Regions from separate parts of the Homo sapiens genome. Here regions 1, 2, 3 and 4 are each linked to region 5. The links are contacts of gene promoters, found by promoter capture Hi-C in blood cells and fetal thymus (Javierre and others, 2016). All regions are on one chromosome and are shown on one strand. The core of a region is centred on a gene start or on the middle of the fragment in contact, and the rest is flanking DNA. Distances in the headings are between cores, read along the strand shown. Region 1 overlaps DNTT (DNA nucleotidylexotransferase). Region 2 overlaps TCTN3 (tectonic family member 3). Region 3 has its middle 7.5 kb from the start of TCTN3. Region 4 overlaps ALDH18A1 (aldehyde dehydrogenase 18 family member A1). Region 5 holds the start of CCNJ (cyclin J).

The links. The method cuts DNA at HindIII sites, captures the fragments that hold promoters and counts their contacts. A CHiCAGO score of 5 or more calls a contact.
Region 1: a contact is called between a fragment that was not itself captured here and the fragment with the promoter of CCNJ in region 5, in 1 of 17 cell types (fetal thymus). The highest score is 7.5, in fetal thymus.
Region 2: a contact is called between a fragment that was not itself captured here and the fragment with the promoter of CCNJ in region 5, in 2 of 17 cell types (naive CD8 T cells and activated CD4 T cells). The highest score is 7.1, in naive CD8 T cells.
Region 3: a contact is called between a fragment that was not itself captured here and the fragment with the promoter of CCNJ in region 5, in 1 of 17 cell types (total CD4 T cells). The highest score is 5.0, in total CD4 T cells.
Region 4: a contact is called between a fragment that was not itself captured here and the fragment with the promoter of CCNJ in region 5, in 1 of 17 cell types (activated CD4 T cells). The highest score is 5.4, in activated CD4 T cells.

What each region holds. Positions count from the first base shown.
Region 1 is chr10:96,331,037-96,335,131 of GRCh38, forward strand. It overlaps DNTT (DNA nucleotidylexotransferase), which reads left to right. Exons shown (of 11, transcript NM_004088.4): 9 at 1,315-1,560. Among named protein-coding and RNA genes, the nearest start is that of OPALIN, 26 kb to the right of the region's middle. The HindIII fragment of the contact is 8,239 bases long and covers 1-4,095 here.
Region 2 is chr10:95,680,724-95,684,962 of GRCh38, forward strand. TCTN3 (tectonic family member 3) reads right to left here. Exons shown (of 14, transcript NM_015631.6): 9 at 3,776-3,901; 10 at 2,799-2,906; 11 at 2,378-2,472; 12 at 1,928-2,081. Among named protein-coding and RNA genes, the nearest start is that of TCTN3, 11 kb to the right of the region's middle. The HindIII fragment of the contact is 8,509 bases long and covers 1-4,239 here.
Region 3 is chr10:95,699,370-95,703,579 of GRCh38, forward strand. It overlaps a transcript of ENTPD1 not described here. Among named protein-coding and RNA genes, the nearest start is that of TCTN3, 7.5 kb to the left of the region's middle. The HindIII fragment of the contact is 7,434 bases long and covers 1-4,210 here.
Region 4 is chr10:95,645,577-95,649,928 of GRCh38, forward strand. The region is part of intron 2 of ALDH18A1 (aldehyde dehydrogenase 18 family member A1); the gene reads right to left. Among named protein-coding and RNA genes, the nearest start is that of ALDH18A1, 9.0 kb to the right of the region's middle. The HindIII fragment of the contact is 3,798 bases long and covers 1-3,444 here.
Region 5 is chr10:96,042,165-96,046,420 of GRCh38, forward strand. It overlaps CCNJ (cyclin J), which reads left to right and starts at 1,419. Exons shown (of 6, transcript NM_001134375.2): 1 at 1,419-1,555; 2 at 2,189-2,298. The coding sequence starts at 2,230. All of the region lies in intron 2 of ENTPD1-AS1 (ENTPD1 antisense RNA 1), which reads right to left. RefSeq lists silencers at 808-1,002, 1,130-1,699. The HindIII fragment of the contact is 7,328 bases long and covers 119-4,256 here.

The DNA.
Region 1 (4,095 bases), core at 1,416-3,915, 290 kb after region 5:
AACTCCCACCAAGAATGGCAACTCGATTGGGCACATCTTAGAATCACTTGTCCACTTTCTGGATAGGCAACTTTAAGTGAAACATGTGTCATTAACTTTATCCCACTTTCTCCAAGGCAGGTGGACTAACACTCTCATGAGAAAGAGTCTCCCAAGTGCTACCTAGAAATAGCAAGTCATCTTGCCCCAAAGTTAGACTCAGCCTCCAGCCACAACGCTTTTGGCTGGTTAAACCTGGTCATCAGTATAATATGAAGGGACACTGTCTTTGTCCATTTACCTTGCTATAAAGGAACACCTGAGGCTGGGTAATTTATAAAGAAAAGACGTTTACTTGGCCCATGGTTCTGCAGGATGTATAAGAAGCACGACACCAAGCATCTGCTTCTGGTGCGGCCTCAGGGGGCTTACACTCATGGCAGAAGGCAAGGAAGAGCTGGCAGGTGCCGAGGTCACAGGGTGAGAGAGAAAGCAAGACAGAGTGGGGAGGGGCCAGGCTCTTTGTAACCCCCAGCTTTCACGGGAGCTAACAAAGTGAGAACTCACTCATTACCATGAGGATGAGGACGGCACAAGTCATTCATGAGAGATCTTCCCCTATGACCCAAAGACCTCCCATTAGGCCCCACCTCCAACATTGGGGATCAAATTTCTACGTGAGATTTAGGGGGACAAACATCCAAACTATAGCAGACACTAACTCAAAGCTGCTCCCCAGAAACAATATGATTTTTTAAGTTTTATTATTTATTTATTTCTGAGACAGGGTCTTGCTCTGTCTCCCAGGCTAGTGTGCACTGGTGTGATTACAGCTTACTGAAGCCTCAACCTCCCAGGCTCCAGGGATCCTTCCACCTCAGCCTCCTGAGTAGCTGGGACTATAGACACGTGCCATCATACCTGGCTAATTTTAAAATTTTATGTAGAAATGAGGTCTTATTATGTCACCCAGGCTGGTCTCAAATTCCTGCAGCGTGGCTTTTTGTTTATGGTTGGTTTGTTTTTAAAGGACTGAGGAGAGCCCAGAGCACTAGCTGAGGTTCAGAAGTGGAGAGGGAGATTTTCTTGCAGTTTTGCCATTAAGTGGCTTTGCTTCAGCCTCTCTCATCGCTAAATTCCTTTTCCGTAAAGGGAAGATAATGCAACCACTTTCTTAGTGTTTTCTCCTAGTGTTTGCAGGTGGGCCTTTAATGCAAGGCCAAACACATGTCCATGTTCTGCTCGAATCTGAAAAGATTTCATTAAGAATCCAGTGTTAAATCATAGATCTTCTTCATCAGGGCCTTTTCCTGATGCCATTCTGTTTCTTTTCAGGGATTACTTTTATATTATGACCTTGTGGAGTCAACATTTGAAAAGCTCAGGTTGCCTAGCAGGAAGGTTGATGCTTTGGATCATTTTCAAAAGTGCTTTCTGATTTTCAAATTGCCTCGTCAAAGAGTGGACAGTGACCAGTCCAGCTGGCAGGAAGGAAAGACCTGGAAGGCCATCCGTGTGGATTTAGTTCTGTGCCCCTACGAGCGTCGTGCCTTTGCCCTGTTGGGATGGACTGGCTCCCGGGTAAGTGCTACATGGACCCATGGGATGATGTTAGCTTTCTGAAAGACGTAGGCCGAGTCTACCTGGGCCCAGGGGAGAGATGACGGCAACAGGGGCTGGGTGACAGGGGAGGGGCCAGTACCCAGAAACCTCTAACTCAAGGCATCCTGTCCACACATGGCCAAGTATGACAGATTAATTTAGAACAGTTATTCCCAGTGTGTGGTCCCCAACACCAGCAGCAGCAACCTTACCCAGGAACAGGTTAGACATGGAAATTCTTCACCCCACTCCAAACCTATGGAATCAAATCAGCATCTCTGGGGATTTCAGCCCGGAAATTTGTTTGGAAAAGGCTTCTAGGTGTTTCTGATGCAGCTCAAGTAGGAGAACCACTGAAGTACAGAAACCAGCAAGGGGATTGAAATAGGAAACAATTAATAAAGTGGAGAGGCAACTCACAGATTGGGAAAAAATATCTGCACATCATACATCACATAAGGGCCATTATCCAGCATATACAAGGAAACCAAAAGACTCAATAACAAGAAAACAAATAATCCTATTTAAAAATGGGCAAAGGACTTGAATAGATATTTCTCAAAAGAAGACATATAAATGGCAAGCAGATATTGCCATCTTGCTTAACATCTCTAATCATCAGAGAAATGCAAATTAAAACCACAATAAGATGTTATCTCACATCCGTCAGATTGGCTATTATCAAAAACATGAAAGACAGCAGGTGTTAGTGAGGCTGTGGAGAAAAGGGAACCCTCTTGTATTGTTGGTGGTGTTGTAAATTACACATTTTGGAAAATAGTATGGAAGTTCCTCAAAAAACTAAAAACAGGGCTACCATATGATCCAGCAATCTTACTTCTGGGTATATAGCCAAAGGAAATGAACTCAGTATGTCAAAGAGAGGTCTGCACTCCCGTGTTCATTGCAGCATGATACACCATAGCCAAGATATTATATAAAAACAACCTAAGCATCCACAGCAGATGAATGGATTTTTAAAATGTAGTATATGCACAGTGGAGTATGACACAGCCTTTCGAAAACAGGACATTCTGTCATTTGAGACAACATGGTTGAACCTAGAGGACATTATGTTAAGTGGAATAAGTCAGGCACAGAGAGACAAATACTGTATGATCTCGTTTCTGTATATGTAGAATCTAAAACAGTCAAACTCGTAGAAGTACAGAATAGAATGTAGAATGGTGGTTAGCAGAGGCTGGGGGATGAGGACAGAAAATGGACAGGGAAAAGGGTCAACAAGTACAAAGTTCCAGTCAGACAGGTGGAATAAACTCTGTTCTATTGCACAGTATGGTGACTATAGTTAATAAAAGTGTATATTTCAAAGTAGCTAAAAGAGAGGATTTTTAATGTTCTTACCACAAAGAAATGGTAGAAGTTTGAGGTGATGGACATGCTAATTAGTCTGATTTTATCATTCTGCAATGTATATAGATGTATCAAAATATCATATTATAACCCACAAATGCATACAATTATTATATGTTAATTAAAAATAAAATCAAGCTATAAAATTTTTCTGAAAGAGCACAAGTTGAGTTCATCCCAGACCTGGTTGCAAGCTCCTGCACTGCTTCTTACTGTTGGGTGATCTTGGACAAGTTCTCTATATCCTGTAAAACTCAATTTTCCCGTCAGGAAAATGAGGACGATGACCTTAGCTACTTCCCTGAGTTGCAGAGACATTAGGTGACATGATGTTCTCAAAGCCTCAGCACCAAGCCAGCACGTGGCCAGTACTGGATAAGTAGTAGCTTCCATATCCTGTCACTCACAGGAGAGGACACCTGTGATTTGAGTCCCATTCGCATGTGTTCCACCCTCCCAACTAAACACCTCACCCTGTTTCTCCTGTTTTCCCAGGTAGCTGGTTGTTGCTTTGAGTGAAATGGGTTCGTAGAGGGTTTTTTATACAGATGAATGACACAACACAAATTAATTGTTCTCAGCCGTGGGTTAAATGTCAGGTGTCTTTGCTTTGGACTGGAATTAATTCAGCACAGCATCTTAGCACTGGGATTTCTTACTCTAATCACAAATGTTGACTGACAACTAAATGCTTTTTTCATTCCTAAAAAAAGGGGAAGAAAAGAAAAAATATATCATAAATGCAACTTGTCTGATAGACATAAATCTTTGGGAACACATAGTTGATTGAGAAAGGGGAACGTTCCAGAAAGAAGTCCTTGGTTATGCAATGTCATGCCAGTTAAGCATCACTGGCTGAAGTGGTTGACATTTGCCCATTTTATTTTTAAGATGGACATGTTTTCAACACATTCTAGTCTGTTTCCTCAGAGTACTCAGAAATTGTTGCTGTTGGTTCTGCAAGGCACTGGCAGAGCACTAAGCTCTTTTGCTTTTTAGCTGGGTGACTTTAAACAAATAAAGGACTTCTGATTGCAAAGTCCATCTCCTCAACCATCCCGGGTGAGCTTTCCTAAAATAGCAAATTGTTCCTTACCACTAGAGGGCACCAGTATCCCAGGCTTGCTCCCTACTCCCACA
Region 2 (4,239 bases), core at 1,079-3,578, 360 kb before region 5:
AGCTTAGTGGAAGAACACAAAAGTTCACAATAAGACTATGTTATTATTCCTGATCTTTTTTTTTTTTTTTTTTGAGACGAAGTCTCGCACTGTCACCCAGGCTGGAGTGCAGGGGCACGATCTCGGCTCACTGCAACCTTTGCCTCCCAGGTTCAAGCGATTCTCCTGCCTCAGCCTCTCAAGTAGCTGGGATTACAGGTGCCCACCACACCTAATTTTTATTTTTGTATTTTTAGTACAGACAGGGTTTCACCATGTTGGCCAGGCTGGTCTTGAACTCCTGACCTTGTGATTTGCCTGCCTTGGCCTCCCAAAGTGCTGGGATTACAGGCGAGACCCACCACACCCGACCTCTGATCTTTTTTTTTTTGAGATGGAGTCTCGCTCTGTTGCCCAGGCTGGAGTACAGTGGTGTGATTTCAGTTCACTGCAACCTCTGCCTCCTGGACTCAAGCGATTCTCCTGCCTCAGCCTCCCCAGTAGCTGGGATTACAGATGCCCACCACTACACCTGGCTAATTTTTGTATTTTTAGTAGAGACAGAGTTTCACCATGTTGGTCAGTCTGGTCTTAAACTCCTGATCTCAAGTGATCTGCCCGCCTCGGCCTTCCAAAGTGCTGGGATTACAGGTGTAAGCCATGGCACCTGGCTTCCTTGATTAATCTAAATAACAGTTACTGAGTATCTCCTATGTGTGAGCTGCTTAGTAGGCACTGGCTTGAGCAGATCATGTGGCTAAAGTAAAGGATTTGAATACAGGAGCAGTGTAAAGTCAAAGAAGATGATACGTAAGGGTTAGATTATGAAGTGCATCCAAGTAGTCTGGAAGCCATCAGAGAGCCTCGAAAGTTTCCAGAATAGAAATATGGTATACCTAATGCAGTACTCCAGGAGGATTAATTGCAAAATGCAGAAAGGCATATCATTCTATATGGTTTTGATTTTTAACCAGATAATGCATTTTCATGTAAATAATTGTAAAAATGTAAATTTTTATAATTACAATAGAAAGAGCACAATTTTAACCTCATGAAACTCTGTGCTGACCAAATATTCAAGAATATAAAATATTTGAAATATATGAGATTTTTGAACAACAGAAATCTGTAGATTATCTGCCTTCAAATTTTTTTCTAAGTAAGGAAAATACATTAGGTATTTTAAACCTAACCTGAAATAACTACTTCAGGCTGGGAACAGTGGCTTATGCCTGTAATCCCAGCACTTTGGGAGGCCAAGGCAGGAGGATCACTTGAGCCCAGGAGTTTGAGACCATCTGGACAACATACTGAGACCTTGTCTCTACAAAAAAATCAAAAAATTATCTAGGCATGCTGGCATGTGCCTGTGGTCCCAGCTACTCGAGGGGCTGAGGTGGGAGGATAGCCTGGGCCCAGAAGGTTGAGAATGCAATGAGCCATGATTGTGCCACTGCACTCCAGCCTAGGTAAGAGTTCAAGATCTTGACTTAGAAAAAAAAAAAAAGGCCAGGCGCGGTGGCTCATGCCTGTAATCCCAGCACTTTGGGAGGCCGAGGCAGGCGGATCACAAGGTCAGGAGTTCAAGACCAGCCTGGTCAATATAGTGAAACCTCATCTCTACTAAAAATACAAAAATTAGCCGGGTGTGGTGGCGGGTGCCTGCAGTCCCAGCTACTCGGGAGGCTGAGTGAGGCAGGAGAATCCCTTGAACCCGGGGGGTGGAGGTTGCAGTGAACCGAGATCATGCCACCACACTCGAGCCAGGGCAACACAGTGAGACTCCATCTCAAAAAAAAAAAGGCTTCAAGTGGGCATGATTTCTTATACTCTTCCTTCTATGACAAATGCATTATCTATGGAGACAAGGCTGGTTTTAAACTTACTATCCAAGATTTACAAAGGGGTAAAAATGAGTCTTCATCAGAAAGTATATTTCTCTCCTTACTGAAATGCTGCAGTGCCTGTTGAGGATCCTGGTCCACCCTCCTTTCTGGGCTGGGTCAGCATTACCAAAGATGGCAACATACTCTGGTCTGGGCCTTCCATGAAGAGTCTGATAAATCTCCTGCTGCAAGTGGCTGCAGTCTGCCTTCTTCAACCTATAATTAAACACCATGGAGGCTGCAGTCCAATGCTAACATAATAATATACCTATATTAGTACGGTATGTTAAACCAAACATTGGAAATAATATAAAATAGACCAGAGGGTATAATCCTTAGTAGGTATTAACAATTGCCAGAAAACTCTTAGCAATATCAACACTATTTAGACTAAAAGACTATTCCTGACTAGCATTTTCCGAACTGTCATTAAAAATATAAAAGTTACCATATCAACATATTCCCTACATATTCCCGAAATTGCAGGAAATGATGCGGAAGCAAAGAACTACCTGAGCTTGCATCCAGATATTGCATTCACTCCAAACTGCACTTCATGTCTTTTAACAGAGCAACTTCCATTACCCTGGCTCTGTAAGAGGGTCATCCAAGGTGGAAAAGTGATGATCAAGGACATCATAACAGAAAAAAAAAGGAGGCAGCATTGCAAAATTTATGTTCTCATTCTCCTTTAATGCTATTTATTTTGTATTACTATCATAATGTTCGAGTCACAAATTTGTGATTTTTTTCCTCAGAAAACCACAGAGAGACAACTAGATTCCAAAAATGATTAACCATATATTAGTATATAAGTACCTCATTATAATGAACAAAAAATTCCTCACCTTTGGCTAGTCTAACATAAGTTTGAAAGCCTTTGCAGCTTTTCTCATTAGGCTGCAACAGGCCACCCAGCTCTAAAAAGGATACTGAGTAACTTATATCATCAGTCAGAGCCAAGAGTGGCTTCCCAACTATATAGCCAGGATTCCCACTTCTAGGACTGGTGAGAGAAGCAGCTGTGCTCTGTTGAAAAGCCTGCAGAAAGAGGGAAGAGAAGTCAATTATGGAGATAAGCATACTTTCCCACCTCCCACTGCTTGGCTTCACCGTACCCTTCCTTAAGGCAAGGAAATGCAATAAGTGAGCTACACTGAACAATCTGGCTTCTTTCCACAGTGTAGCATTTTGCTTCTTTCACTTTTTTAAATTTACTAAAATAAATCCTTCATGATCTGAATATTGAAATTCATAATACGCTACTTTTACCAAGGATTACAACCAAGAATCTACTAAGGATCCCTTAAAAATTACTAGCAATTTAGCAATAATAACACAGCCTGGTTAAAATCTGAAAAATTTAAATGTAATTAAAAAATATATATTTTAATTAACTACAGATGTTCCAGAGATGAGCTCTGAGAGACACAGCAGTTGGTTGATCACCTGAGGGTAGAGTTGAGAAAATCTATGCTGGGTTCAAAAAGAGGAAAGAAGTAGCAGAAAGCCAAATGGCAGTGATTAAGAGTGAACACTCAGATTAAGTGGGAAATGAGTAAAATGCTGACTGCCCAGAAATATGAGAACAGCTAGTTAAAGAATTTTTGTAGGTGTTGGCTGAATTTATGATTCAAAATGACTATAAAAAAAGTTTTGATTTTAGATTGAAGTCCTGCTTTGTTGGGGGCCAGACAGAGAATTGGAGAAAATTTTAATGAGTAAAGACTTGTAGAATAACCACAACTTGTAGTAAAATTATGGAATATTAAATGTTGAGGCCTCAATCGACAGACTGAACTAGGCCTTCATATTCTTATTCTATTTCACATGTATTACAGAAGCAAAGAAATTATTTCTAACCCAATATTTCTTCCCCTCTAAATCCCCTATAAGAGAAGGGCCCTAACCCTGAAGCGAAGGATGAAGTGTTGCTGTAAGGAAGCGCCTGGCTCAACAGTCAGGTTGGTTTGTCCCAAACTGACAGAAACTTTCTGGATTCCAAAAGTCCCATTGGTCTCTATCTCATAGGTGACCTGAAATGCAAAAAGAATCAATTAATAAAAAGTAGTTATTGGGCCGAATATGTTTAGGACAGAAGATTTTCTGTCTTCAAGGGTGTTATTATAACTAAATGAGGCAGACTGAAACAGTAATGTTAAAAATGCCAAACACAAATACTATGAAAGATAAAGATGATTTCATATTATATTTGTATATGAAAAAGAAACTGGATAGAGCTCTTTAAAAGGGTTCACGGGTAGGTGAGTTTTTGGTAGGAACTGAAAGGGAAGAAAAATAAGTTGATTACGGACAGAGGAGGGCAAGTAGAAACAGGCAGAGGTGAGCATGGAACAGAAATCTGGTTTACTTG
Region 3 (4,210 bases), core at 340-2,839, 340 kb before region 5:
GAGGCTGAGGCAGGGTGATTGCCTAAGTTCAGGAGTTAAAGACCAGCTTGGGCAACATGGTGAAACCCTGTCTCTACAAAAAATAAAAATTAGCCAGGTGTGGTAGTGCACACCTGTAGTTCCAGCTACCCAGGAGGCTGAGGTGGGAGGATCACTTGAGCCCAAGAGGTTGAGGCTGCAGTGAGCCTTGATTGTGCCACTGCACTCCAGCCTGGGTGACAGAGCAAAATCCTGTCCAAAAAAAAAGAAAGAGAGAGATTGAGAGAGAGAAAGAGAGAAGAAAAGAAAGGAGGTAAGAAGGAAAGAAAGATGCACATTTGACCCCTCTTTTGAAATTTTATTAAAATACCTGTTAAAAGACTTAAAAGGGTATATATTTATAAAAACAAAAAGTAGGAGGTGTGGTTGACCATCAGCATGGTCAGTATGGAAGATTTTTCATACATTTTTGAAGAAATTGGAAGGATATTGACTGAAGAAGCAGCAGCCTAGAATATCCATGGAAAGGGACTGCAGCCAAAGGAGACAGCTGCCTTCCAGCAGAATACCACAGAGTAGCCAGAACTAGCGATAGCAAGTAAGAGAGAAGATAAAAGGTAAAGTTGATGGAAATCAAGAAAATACATCGAAGGTCTATATGGTATATGGAATAGTTTGCCTTTGTACTCAAAAGGACCTATAACTAGATATTTTCTTTGAGGAAAAAATAGAGAATTCTTTCTAGAAATTGATACACTAGTTAATATAAGAGAGATTTGAGAAGTAATCAATAAAACATTCATGAGAGCAGAATATTTGGCAAAGGAGCAATCAGAATAAGAGAAAGCTCTTGGAAATTAAAACTATTAACTTTTTTGTTTAAAATTTTGGAAGATAAATATAAGGACATCTAATCTATTGAACAAAAAGATAAATAAATAGAAAATATGAGACACTGAGGATTAAATCTACAAGTCCAATGTTTGATTAATATGAGTTCCAGGAAAAAAAAAGAAAATGGAAGAATTAAATTGGTTAAGGAAATATTAGGAACTCACACCTGTAGTCTCAGCACTTTGAGAGGCTGAAGCAGGAGGATCGCTTGAGGCTGGAGGATCACTTGAGGCCAGGAGTTTGAGACCAACCTGGGCAACATAGTGAGACTCCGTTCCTACAAGAAATGAAAAAAAATACCTGGGCATGGTGGCACGTGCCTATAGTCCTAGCTGCACAAGAGGCTGAGTTGGGAAGATCGCTTGCACCCAGGAAATTGAGGTTATAGTGACCTGTGATCACAGCACTGCACTCCAGCCTGGACAATAGAGCAAATCTCTGTCTCTATTAAAAAGAAAAGAAAATGGAAAAACAATAAAACAAATAAGTCCAAATATATAAATAATTACAATAAATATGAATAAGTTTAATTCATCTATTAAGAAGTATATTCTTTTTTTTTTTTTTGAGACCAAGTTTCGCTCTTGTTGCCCAGGCTGGAGTGCAGTGGCATGATCTCGGCTCACTGCAGCCTCCACCTCCCTGGCTCAAGCAATTCTCCTGCCTCAGCTTCCCAAGTAGCTGGGATTATAGGTGCCCACCACCACGCCTGGCTAATGTTTTGTATTTTTAGTAGAGATGAGGTTTTGCCATGTTGGCCAGGCTGGTCTCGAACTCCTGGCCTCAGGTGATCTGCCCGCCTCAGCCTCCCAAAGTGCTGGGATTACAGGCCTGAGCCACCGTGCCCAGCCAGAAATAAAATCTTAATAGGCAAATGCTAATAAGGAGGAAACAGATGTGGTAATAGTAATGACAGTCAAAATAGAATTCCAGCCTAGTGCAGTGGCTTGTGCCTATAATTTCAGCTACTCAGGAAGGGAAGTTGAAGCAGAAGGACTGCTTGAGACCAGGAGTTCAAGACCAGCCGGGCAACATAGTGAGACCTTATCTCTAAAAATATAAAGATAAAAATAAAATTCTAAGTGAATTATATTTGAGGGCAATATATATTTCATCTTTATAAAAGTTACAGACTACCTAGAAGATGTTAAATTAATGAATCCTTGTGGATCTAAAGACATTGTTTTAAAATATAAAAGCAAATAAGTAGTGGAAAGAGTAGACTAGGTAAATCCACCATCAGAGTAAAAGATTTTTATCATACCTCTTCCATAAATAGATAGATTAAATAATAAAAATAGAGAAAAAGATTTAAATAAGTGATTTTAAAATTCTCAATTTATCTATAGATGGTGTAGAACTTGAACCTAATAAGCAAATAGTACTAATTATTTTCAATCATACTTGGAGCATTGACAAAAATTGACCATGTATTATGCCACAAAGGGAATCTCAATGAAGAGAAAAAAGGCAAAGATTTTATAGTACATTCTGCTTGCCACAATGCATTAAAATTAGAAATTAACATAAAAGGACAGCAAAATATCCTCTTGGAAATTAAGGGAAAAAATCACATTTTTGAATAAATCTTGAGTTAAAAGAAAATAAACACAAAAATTACAAACTAATTAAAAATGAAAGTTAAACAACTAGAATACATAGAACAAAGCCAATAGAACTTAGAGAACTTTTATATTTTCAAGTACTTTTATTTTTTAAAAAGAAATATTTAAAATAATCCTAAACTTAATCTTACAATTTAGTAAGCAAACAAATTACAAATTAAAAGATAAAGAAGAGAATTCATAAAGATAATAGAGGAAATTAAAAATTAAAAACAAATAAAAAATCAGTAGAGTAATTGATAAAACCAATAGCTGGTTATGTGAAAAGATAAACAGACAAATGTTTAGAAGATCAAATTAAAAAACACAAATTAATAATATTAGGTCCCAATAAGAGGTCATAACAATTGGTATAGACTTAAAATATATATATGATTAATATACATTCAGTAAAATAGCTGACAAGATGGAGAATTTCACCAGAGACTGAAACCTATGAAAATGCATCAAATGTAAATCCTAGAACTGAAAAGTACAATAATGGAAATTGAGAACTCTTAGATTGGTTTAACAGTGGATTAAACACAGCAGAGGGCAGGATTAGTGAACTGAAAAACTAGATTATTTGTTAAGATCTAGTATAAAACATGGGAAAATGTGTTGAAAATTCAGAAAAGAATGTAAGAGACAATGTGGGGAGAGTGGTAGAAATACTGATATGTAATTGGGCCCCAGAAGGAAAGGAGAGAGATAATGGGGTAGACACAGCAATATATTAGGATATTTTGGCTGAATATTTTCCCAAATAAATGAATGTTATCAATCTGTAGATTCCAGCTCTACAAAACCCAAACAAGATAAATTTAAAAGAAAATAATACATGGGGATATCTTACTCAAATCCCAAACATTGACAAAGAGAAAATCTTTAAAATGTATAGCTTAAAAAGACATATTACCTTCAAAACAGCAACAATAACACCTGACTTTTCTTGAAACAGAGTCTCACTCTGTCGCCCATGCTGGAGTGCAATGGTGCGATCTCGGTTCACTGCAAACTCCGCCTCTGGGTTCACACAATTCTCTGCCTCAGCCTCCAGAGTAGCTGGGAATGACAGGCACCTGCCACCACGCCAGGCTAAATTTTTTTTTTTATTTTTAGTAGAGATGGGGTTTCACCATCTTGGCCAGGCTGGTTTTGAATTCCTCACCTCGTGATCCACCCGCCTCGGGCTCCCAAAGTGCTGGGATTACAGGTGTGAGCCACCGCGCCCGGCCTACACCTGACTTTTCAACAAAAATAATGGAAGTTATAAAAAGTAGAATATCTTTAAGGAAGCTAACCTAAAATTGTATACCCAGCAAAAGATTCCTCAAAAATGAAGATAAGATAAAAATGTATTTATAAACCAAAAACTGAGGGAAAAATTACCACTAACAGACCCACACAAAGAATTGCTAAAGGGAATTCTTCATGCTAAAGAGAAAATGATCTCAGACGGATGCATGGAAATGCAGAAATAAATGAAGAGCAATGGAAAGAATAAATATAATGTCAATATAGAAAATTCAATTGTATTCCTATATTATAGCCATAATAAAGTAAAACTTTTAGATGATAAAATGTACAATTACCTGAAGAAACACTAAATACACAGGAATAAATCTGAAATAGTATAAGATCTTTACATATCACTGGGCGCGGTGGCTCACGCCTGTAATCCAAGCACTTTGGGAGGCCAAGGCAGGTGGATCACTTGAGGTTAGGAGTTT
Region 4 (4,352 bases), core at 296-2,795, 400 kb before region 5:
TATCTTAGAAAGAACATTTCTAATGAAGTAATAGTCATTTCTGCCTTTCCTTAAATAACCGTTTTTCAAGTGACTATGTTTCAGGTTTGTGGAGATATAAGAAAGATAATATGATTTTTTTTCACAACAGGCTTGGCATCTAGATCCTGGCACAGAGCTGCTTGGTAAGCCATCATCTGGGATGGAACTGGGATTCCGATGGCATTGCTGGATCCACAGGTGCACGGTCTCTTCCTGCTGTGGGAGTCCCTGGGACTAAAAGACTGGTTTGTTGTTGAGGCTAAGTTTTATGGAGTGCTACTTTCCTTCATTGGGTTAATTATTAATAATATAGGTACCCTACTCTGCTTTCAGGAATATTATCCTAAGCAATATGTACAACTAAGTCTTAAGTTTAAAAGTTGTATGCCTAATGGTTTGGTCTTACTGATCTGCCAGAGAGAAGGGTGGTGGAGGGACAGGCTTACTCCCCTAGGGTTTGGACCAGGGATCATCAGTGGCTGTTTGCAGAGCTTAGAGCTATGCCAAGTATCATGTATTATCCTTTTGGTAGCTGTCAGATCTAGGCTTTCTGGCTTTCTCTCCTGTCTGCTGGAGGGCCTATCCTGACCTGGAAGGGTGGTGAGCATGGGTGGAGCAGCCTGAGAGGGTACCTCAGGAACACAGGCAGTGGCATGCATGTCTGTCCAGGTGATCAAATGGTAGAAGCCAATCAGAATCCAGCAGCCAGGCTAGCATGAAGGAGGCTAACCCACAGTCTGTATCAGGAGAAGAGGGTGGGTCGCATGGTTCAGTGCCAGGTAGTCAAGGGTCATTCTGGCTGGAGACAATAGGGTAACAGCAGTAGATAAGGCCTGTTAGGGTTCAAGAGGAGGTCACCACTAACAACAAGGTTTCATGCAGTTGACTCAGTCAAATCCAGTAGGTTCTAGCACAAAGGAGAGCTTCAGGGGACTCAGGGCTTGTTGGGTTTCCTATTGAACAACGCCTTTTACCTTCCAAGGCTGACCCTACCTTTCTTGGGGGTATTTTTTTAATGTTCTACAATGTATTATACTTGTTAGGGTCCATATTGAAAACTGAGAAGGCCTTGATTAGTTAGGAAAATTCAAGGCTTCTAGAGAAATAATTGTTTCCCATCTTCTAAGGAACTTTTAGGCTCTAAGTTCCAAAGAAAATCTGTCCCCTCTTAGTAGGTATGAGGGCATACTGAAGTGTATGTGTGTACAGATGTGGCATGGTGGGGGATGGGAGGGGTTGTCCATGTTCTTCTTAAGGGCCACGGATTATACTCTTACCACTCTGACAGAGGAGAACCCTTTACTTCTTCAGCATCAGAATCCTTATGCCCAGTAACCAATGAGGCTGTGTTCCAGGCCTCAACAAGAAGGGACCCAGACATGACTACTCTTTTTCTCTCTGGCCTTCCATTGCCTTCTCTGTTTATCTCCACAAGCGTTCTCATTTTGCCTTTCTTTTCTTTTTTTTTCCCTCTGCTATTCTGCTTATCATGGTCAGTGAAAGAGCTCCACGTTCCAGAAAAATCCAAATCCCCAAATTCAAAAACCTAGGGAAACAATTAGAAAGTGCCTCCTTCTGTGAATGAGTCTAATGAGGATAAGTATCAATAAAAATACTGAAGTGAACACTTACTATATACCAGGAGTTGTGCTAAGTATTCATACACCTTCTACAGGAGTAAAAAGGACAAGTGTTGGCTCTGGAGCCAGACTGCCTGAGTGAAATTTCAACCCCTTCACTTACTTGCTGTCTCCTTAACTATCTCATAAGGTTGGTAGGGTGGATAAAACAAGTTCATGCATGAACAGAGATTGGCACAAAATACTCAATGAATATTAACTGGTACTGTAAAAAAAGTGTTACTTACTGTGACATGACATATATATCCATGGTCCCTGGCTTATAACTCTAATAATCCTTTTTACAGTCTTTTGTTATAATGTTGGTGTAAGGAAACAGAATCTCTCTGGTATTCTCCTGAACTCCTTTCACCTACTCAAGGCAGGACTCTAATTTGATTGTGGGTTGTAAGACCCTCAGTCCAGAGAGGGTCCTGCCCCATACCTTGGAGGAAGAAATATTGCACAGGAAGACCAAGACAAAATCTGAACAGACAGGCCTTGCTGGGTTACCCCACTCAGTCTATTAGTATCAGGTCACATTCTTTTTGTTCAATCACATTTCGACACAGTTGCCCATGCTTCAATCATGCCTATCCAATAAGTCTCCATAAGAGGTCCAAGGGGACAAGGTTCGGAGAGCTTCCAGATGGCTGAACATGTGGAGGTTCCTGGAGGGTGGCGTGCCCCGGAAGGGCATGGAAGATCTGTGCCTCTTACCACACACCTCACCCTACATATCTCTTCATCTGTTTCCTTTGTAATAAATTGGTAAATCTAAGTGTTTCCCTGAGTTCTCTGCATCACTCTAGCAAATCAATCAAGCCCAAAGAGGGTACTGTGGGAACCCCAACTTGAAGCCAGTCAGTCAGAAGTTCCAGAAGCCTGGACTCAGGACTACTAGGAAGATGGGGATGATCTTGAGGGACTGAGCCCTCAACCTGTGGGCTGTCCTCAGGGAGACAGTGTCAGAATTGAATTGGAGGATACCCAACTGATGTCCACTGCAACCCCGTACATTTGGTCACAGAAGTCTTCTGTGTTGATTGTTGTTATGGAGTGAGAGCAGAGGAAAAATAGTTTGAGCTTTTCCATATTCTACCTTCATCATCATCATCATCATCATCATCATCATCATCATCATCATCTTACTGAATTCTCATGAATTAAGCCTCATAAGTTAGGTATTATTATGAGTTCATTATTATTATTATCCCCATTTTATAAATAAGGAAACTGATGCTCAGAGTAACTGAGTAATTTACCAGCATTGCCAGATTACAAAAATGGCCACAATCCTTTTGCAGCTTCTCCATTAACAGGTGAGTCAATCTTCCAAACTTCTTAAATTTGAGCTGGCCCCGTAACTTGCTTTGACAAATGTGGCAGAAGGAACAGTGCATAAATTCTGAGTTTACATCTCAAGAGGACTTGTAGCTACCATGCTTCCTGTTCTGGGGACCCTGCAAGCATCATGCAAAGCAGCAATGAACAGCCTGCTGGAGAATGAGAAGCCACAGGGAATGTACATGATGTATCATCCCAGCAGAGGCCCCTTCATCCCCAACAATCAGCCCTAAGTCAATCTGAGACCTGACACAGACACAGAACCACTGTGCAGCTGAGCCCAGTCCAAAATACCATCCCACAGAATTGTGACCTAAACAGACAGTTGTTTTAAGCTACGAAGTTACTTCATAAGCAGAAGGGCTAGTTTTAAAAACCCAGGAACTGGTTCCAAAACCTGAACTTTCAGCCCTTATACTCTACATTAATAGGAAAGAGATTTTTCTGTCTAATGACAAGCTTGATTAGTTGATTGGCAAGTCATCTTGCAATGAAGCTTGGAAATGGACTACTGATAAGATTTAGGTGATATCAAGGAGCTAGCCAACTCAAAACATCACAAACAGCCTTTCAACAAATGATGCTGGAACAACTAGTATTAAAAGTTGAAAGATGAACATTGACCTAAACCTCACACCTTATACAAAAATTAACTCAAAATAGATCACGAAGTTGGGTGCAGTGGCTCACACCTGTAATTCCTGCAGGTTGGGAGGTCAAGGTGGGAGGATCTTTTGAGCCCAGAAGTTCGAGACCAGCCAGAGCAACATAGACTCCATTTTTACAGATTTTTTTTTTTTTTTTTTTTTGAAACGGAGTCTCACTCTGTCACCCAGGCTAGAGTGCAGTGGCGCTATCTTGGCTCACTGCAAGCTCCTCCTCCCGGGTTAATGCCATTCTCCTGCCTCAGCCTCCCAAGCAGCTGGGACTACAGGCACCTGCCACCACACCCGGCTAATTTTTTGTGTTTTTTAGTACAGACGGGGTTTCACTGTGTTAGTCAGGATGGTCTCGATATCCTGACCTCGTGATCTGCCCACCTCGGCCTCCCAAAGTGCTGGGATTACAGGCGTGAGCCATCAGGCCCAACCAAAAAACTTTTTAAAAAATTAAATGTGCCAAGACTGGGCAACATGGCAAAACCCTGTCTCAACAAAAAATATAAAAATTAGCTGGATATGGTGGTGCACGCCTATAGTCCCAGCTACTTGGGAGGCTGAGGCAGGAGAATCGCTTGAGCCTGGGACGTTGAGGCTGCAGTGAGTAATGATTGCACCACTGCTCTCTAGCCTGGGTGACAGAGTGACACCCTGTCTCAAAAAATAAAAAAAAAAAACAAAGAAAAAAATTAGCCAGCTGTGGTGG
Region 5 (4,256 bases), core at 169-2,668:
TTCTTAAATAGGCCCTGGACAGTTATTTAGAAGCCAAATTATTATAAAGTTGTTTAATAGTCATGAAATGGAACCCAAGGATGTAGACACTATTTAAATGCCATTAAAAATGGCATGAAGCTTTTAGCCTGATGTGTCTACCTTCACTCTAGAGGACCCTGCAACTGAGAGACAGGCCAGGGCAGCCTTCTCCCTGGACTATGTCGGGTTAGGCCGGGATCTGCCAACTTCAGCTTCTGAGTTTCCCTTTTCTTGCCTTTGGTTCCTGCGGGCCTGCTCTCCTGGGTATAAGCATCGTCTATGGATAGGGTACGGCTCATATACATGTCTGCTGATGATCTTCAAATGAAGATGCCACCCAGAATCACATAAAATGTATTTATCACTTTGTAGTAGTTCTTTATCATCATGTATCTTTTTGGACAAAGGATTCAAAGTAAAAGGGGTGAAGTTTTAAAAATATTTACGTTTTACTATTAAGAGATTGATCTCCAGTCTCAGAAAAGTGGACAGTCTCACTGTCCTAGGGTTACCATCCACCTCTTTTGTGATAATCCACCAAAGAGGTTAAAATACAATTGATTAGGTTTCCTCTAATCACATTTCAGCCCCCATATCACCTCAATTGACGTCGGAGTGTTCTCACAGTTTTGCAGTTTCCTGATTTACGAGCACAGATGGTTAATTACATCCACCATGGGTTTGACAAGCAAGGTTACTAGAAGTAATCTTAAATGTCTTCATTCAAAGCTCTTGGGAATCCCTACAGCAACGAAAATAAGGAGGGGGAAGAGATTAATTAGGTTTCTAGAAGAAAGGTGGAGTTTGAGGTGGAACTTAAAAAAAGAGCATAATTTCACAGGAAAAAAAAAACGCTTCAGGGGCTGCAGAAACAGCTAAAGCACATTTGGAGGGCCTGATGATCCACGGAGCAGCCCCTGGGATGGAAGCGGTTGGTGCAACGTGAAGTAAGGTAAACCGAATCCATGCCGTGAAGACTTTTAAACGCCAAACTGAGGCGTCGGAACTTTGCTCCGCGGGCATCGAGGAGCCATCGAAGGTTCTCAGCAGGTGAGTGGCCTAACTGGATTGGTCACTGCAGTGATCCACCTTACAATTTCTCCGGCGCTCTCTGCCGACCTCAGCCGGCGATCAGGCCGGCTTCGCAGTAGGTGGCGGCTGAGCGCCCCGGCAACCGAAGCGCCAGGCCAGCCCAGGCCACGCCGCGCCGTGCGGGATGCTGACCGTACCCAGGCGGGAGCCGCCGCGCCGCCGCCTGGCGCTGCACCTGGGCCCGGCCCGGCCGCCAATTGGACGGCTCGGGGCGACCCCGCTGTATCGCGAGACGAGATTGGCAGCGGCGGGGCCTCAAGTGCCCCCGCGCTGGCTTTGTATGCGGAGCCGCCTGCCGGTCCTTTAACAATGGGCGGCGCGAGCGTCCAGGCGCTGGGCTCTAGCTGAGGCCGGCGCTTAGCGGCCCACTGTCCGCAGCATGAGCGGGGCCGGCGTCCGCCGCACGACGGCGGGGCTGGGGCTGTGAGGGCCGCGGTTCCGGGTAAGGGAGCCAGCGTGGGGCCGGGCGGCCCGGCAGGCCTGGGGTAGGCGTGGGGCAGCGGACCCTCCCGGGGTGAGGCGCAGAGCCTGGCTGGCCCGGCCTTTTGTTCCCCTTTCTGAGGCCGCGCGGAACGTGCGTTTCTCGGGGCTCCCGGGGAGGAGCAGGCTCCCGACGTCCATGCGGAGACCCGCGGCCAGGCAGACGCTCACCCCCGGGCTTTGCCATGGGAGCGTTTCCCCTCAGCGGGGCTATGAGCGTGTCACCTCTCCCCGCTCCTCAGGGAGGGCGGGAGAACTCCAGCCCCGGACGCAGGGAGCCCCAGCCGGGCCTCCCCCAGCTCTTCCCGAGCTCGCACCTGGCTCCGCGCTTTGGCAACTCAGGGCCCGAGTGGATCCCCTTTTGCCCGACACATAGTCGAGCAGTGAGTCTCAGAGTCCTTCGGCTCTTCCTGCGGGGGCAGACCCGGCTTCGCGTGTGGCGTTGGGGGAAACGACTCGGGTCGGGCTGGGTTGAGGAAGAGTCAAGTGAAGATGAGCAGCCACACCGGGTGGCCTGAGGTCACACCCCCCGGGGAGGGGGCGCAGAGGGTCGCGGGGGAGCCGGCAGTGACCGCGCCTGGGGTGTGTCTTACAGACTCGAGTTGCCGCGTCGGGCTGGGCGCGCCGCCGGGTCCCATGGAGCTGGAGGGGCAGTGGTGGCGAGGACAGCTGGCCGCCGATATTCACCAAGCGCTTCGCTACAAGGTAACTCCGAGGCCCGGCCTGCCTTCTCCTTCTGTGTGTCGCGCCAGTTGTTCTGAATCTCGGCTCTCTAGAAGGTCTAGTCAGGTTCTTTACTCACTATCTTCCGGGCCAGAAAAGGCGAGTTTGCTCATTTGCTCAAGGTTAATTAACTTCTTGGCTCCTTCTCTGGGATGTATCAAAAGAACCTGCAACCTGAATGAGTAGGGAGATGGTAGTTGGGCCAGGGAAGGTGGAAAGGGGCGTTCTGGCTTCCAGGTGGGTCATGAATTTGATCTTGTATTTTAAAAGATATATACACTGAATTTTTGTTGGGCAGAACAGCCCTCTTTGTTCGAGAGTTGCCGTTGCATGCAGCCAGTTTAAGTCGCTTTTGTACATAAATTCCTCAGCCTTTCCGCTAACTTGCCGTGAGACGTGGACAAGTGAAATTTCTGTTTCTTGATTTCCTCATCTGTAAAATGAGGAATAATGAGTGTGCCTTATGATTCTGGCGATTGTGAAACTTAAGTTAGTACCGTACATGTGCTTAGAAACTGCTCTTGGTATATAGTAAGCACTAAGTGATAACTTCTTATCACTTACCCCTCAGGATTTGGGCTGTTCAAAAGCCCTAAAGTGGAGGGAGTTGGCTGCCCCTTCCTGCTGATATCAAAGGCAGAAAGTAGACTTAATAGATATTGGAAAAAAATACTTTTCCAACACAAAGCAAAGTCTGTGTATTGTTGCTATTAAGTAACGGTTTTACTCTGCATGTGGCAAGGCAGATTAATGAGACATTTCTGCCTCTTCGATAACCAAAAGAGAGACCAGATCCAAAATGATCTCTAGCTTAACTCAGTTTCACCTTGGATAAAGAAAGCCATTTGTTAAATGTAGAAAATTGAGAAAGAAGCAAAACAGCTGACTTTCAATAAAAAGGATTCTGACTCTTGGGGTTGAGATCCTGGAATGATAATGAACTTTTATCTTGAGTTTCTGACCAGGTCAAGTAGATTGGAAAACCTAATTCTGACTTAAATTGTTACCCTTTTCTAGGCCTGAGATTTCTAAATGCTACTTAACTAATTCTGACATTCAGTCTCTTAGATTCACTAAAATACAGTTCAGCCCCCTAGGAGATGGTTTATACCACATAAAAATTCTAACTAATGGGATCTCTGGAGTGTTAGTTAGGAAAGAGTTGCAGTTTCTTGGAAAATTGTCCAGATACACTTTTGATCTTTTTTTTTTTTGGCAGATGTCATCTTTCAATGTGAAATGTTTTCTTTTTTAAAAAAATTAATATAGTTGCACATATTTTGAAAAGTGTTTTAAGTGTCAGCCTTTTTATCCCTCTGGTATGTAGTGAAATTAATTAGTTGATATTAAGAGTACTTTTTTTTTGAGTTGGAGTTTCACCTGACCTCAGGTGATCCACCTGCCTCGGCCTCCTAAAGTGCTGGGATTACAGGCATGAGCCACTGCGCCCAGCCAAGAGTATATTTTTTAATTGGCATGAAACTTAAAAGGTTTTTCTTGGTGATTTCCATACTTTTCAATCATTTTATGTGTAGATCATTTTAATTCGTGAGTGATTATCTGCATTTTGTCAATTGAGTTTGGACATGGGTTCTTTGTTTTTTTGTTTTTTCTCCTAGATTTAGATTTGTTGAAGGCTTTTGTGGATTAGTTTCTGGAGCATCCAAGGCATAAGACCCAACCTTATACTCACTCAAGTTGCTTATGAACTATCAGAGGACAAGGTAGCACAGGGTGTGAAGGAATGCCACTGAAAGTTTTATTGGGCCACCTATGGCCTACTGCCCTGGGTTGTCTTTATGTTTAAGCATTATGCAAACCATGGTTCTTACTGGCAACACTTTATACAAGAATTTACATTAATCTGTAAAACTTAAACTTGTGGAACTGGAGAGACCACTGTTTGTAATACACTGAAGGAAACTTAAAATGGACTTTTC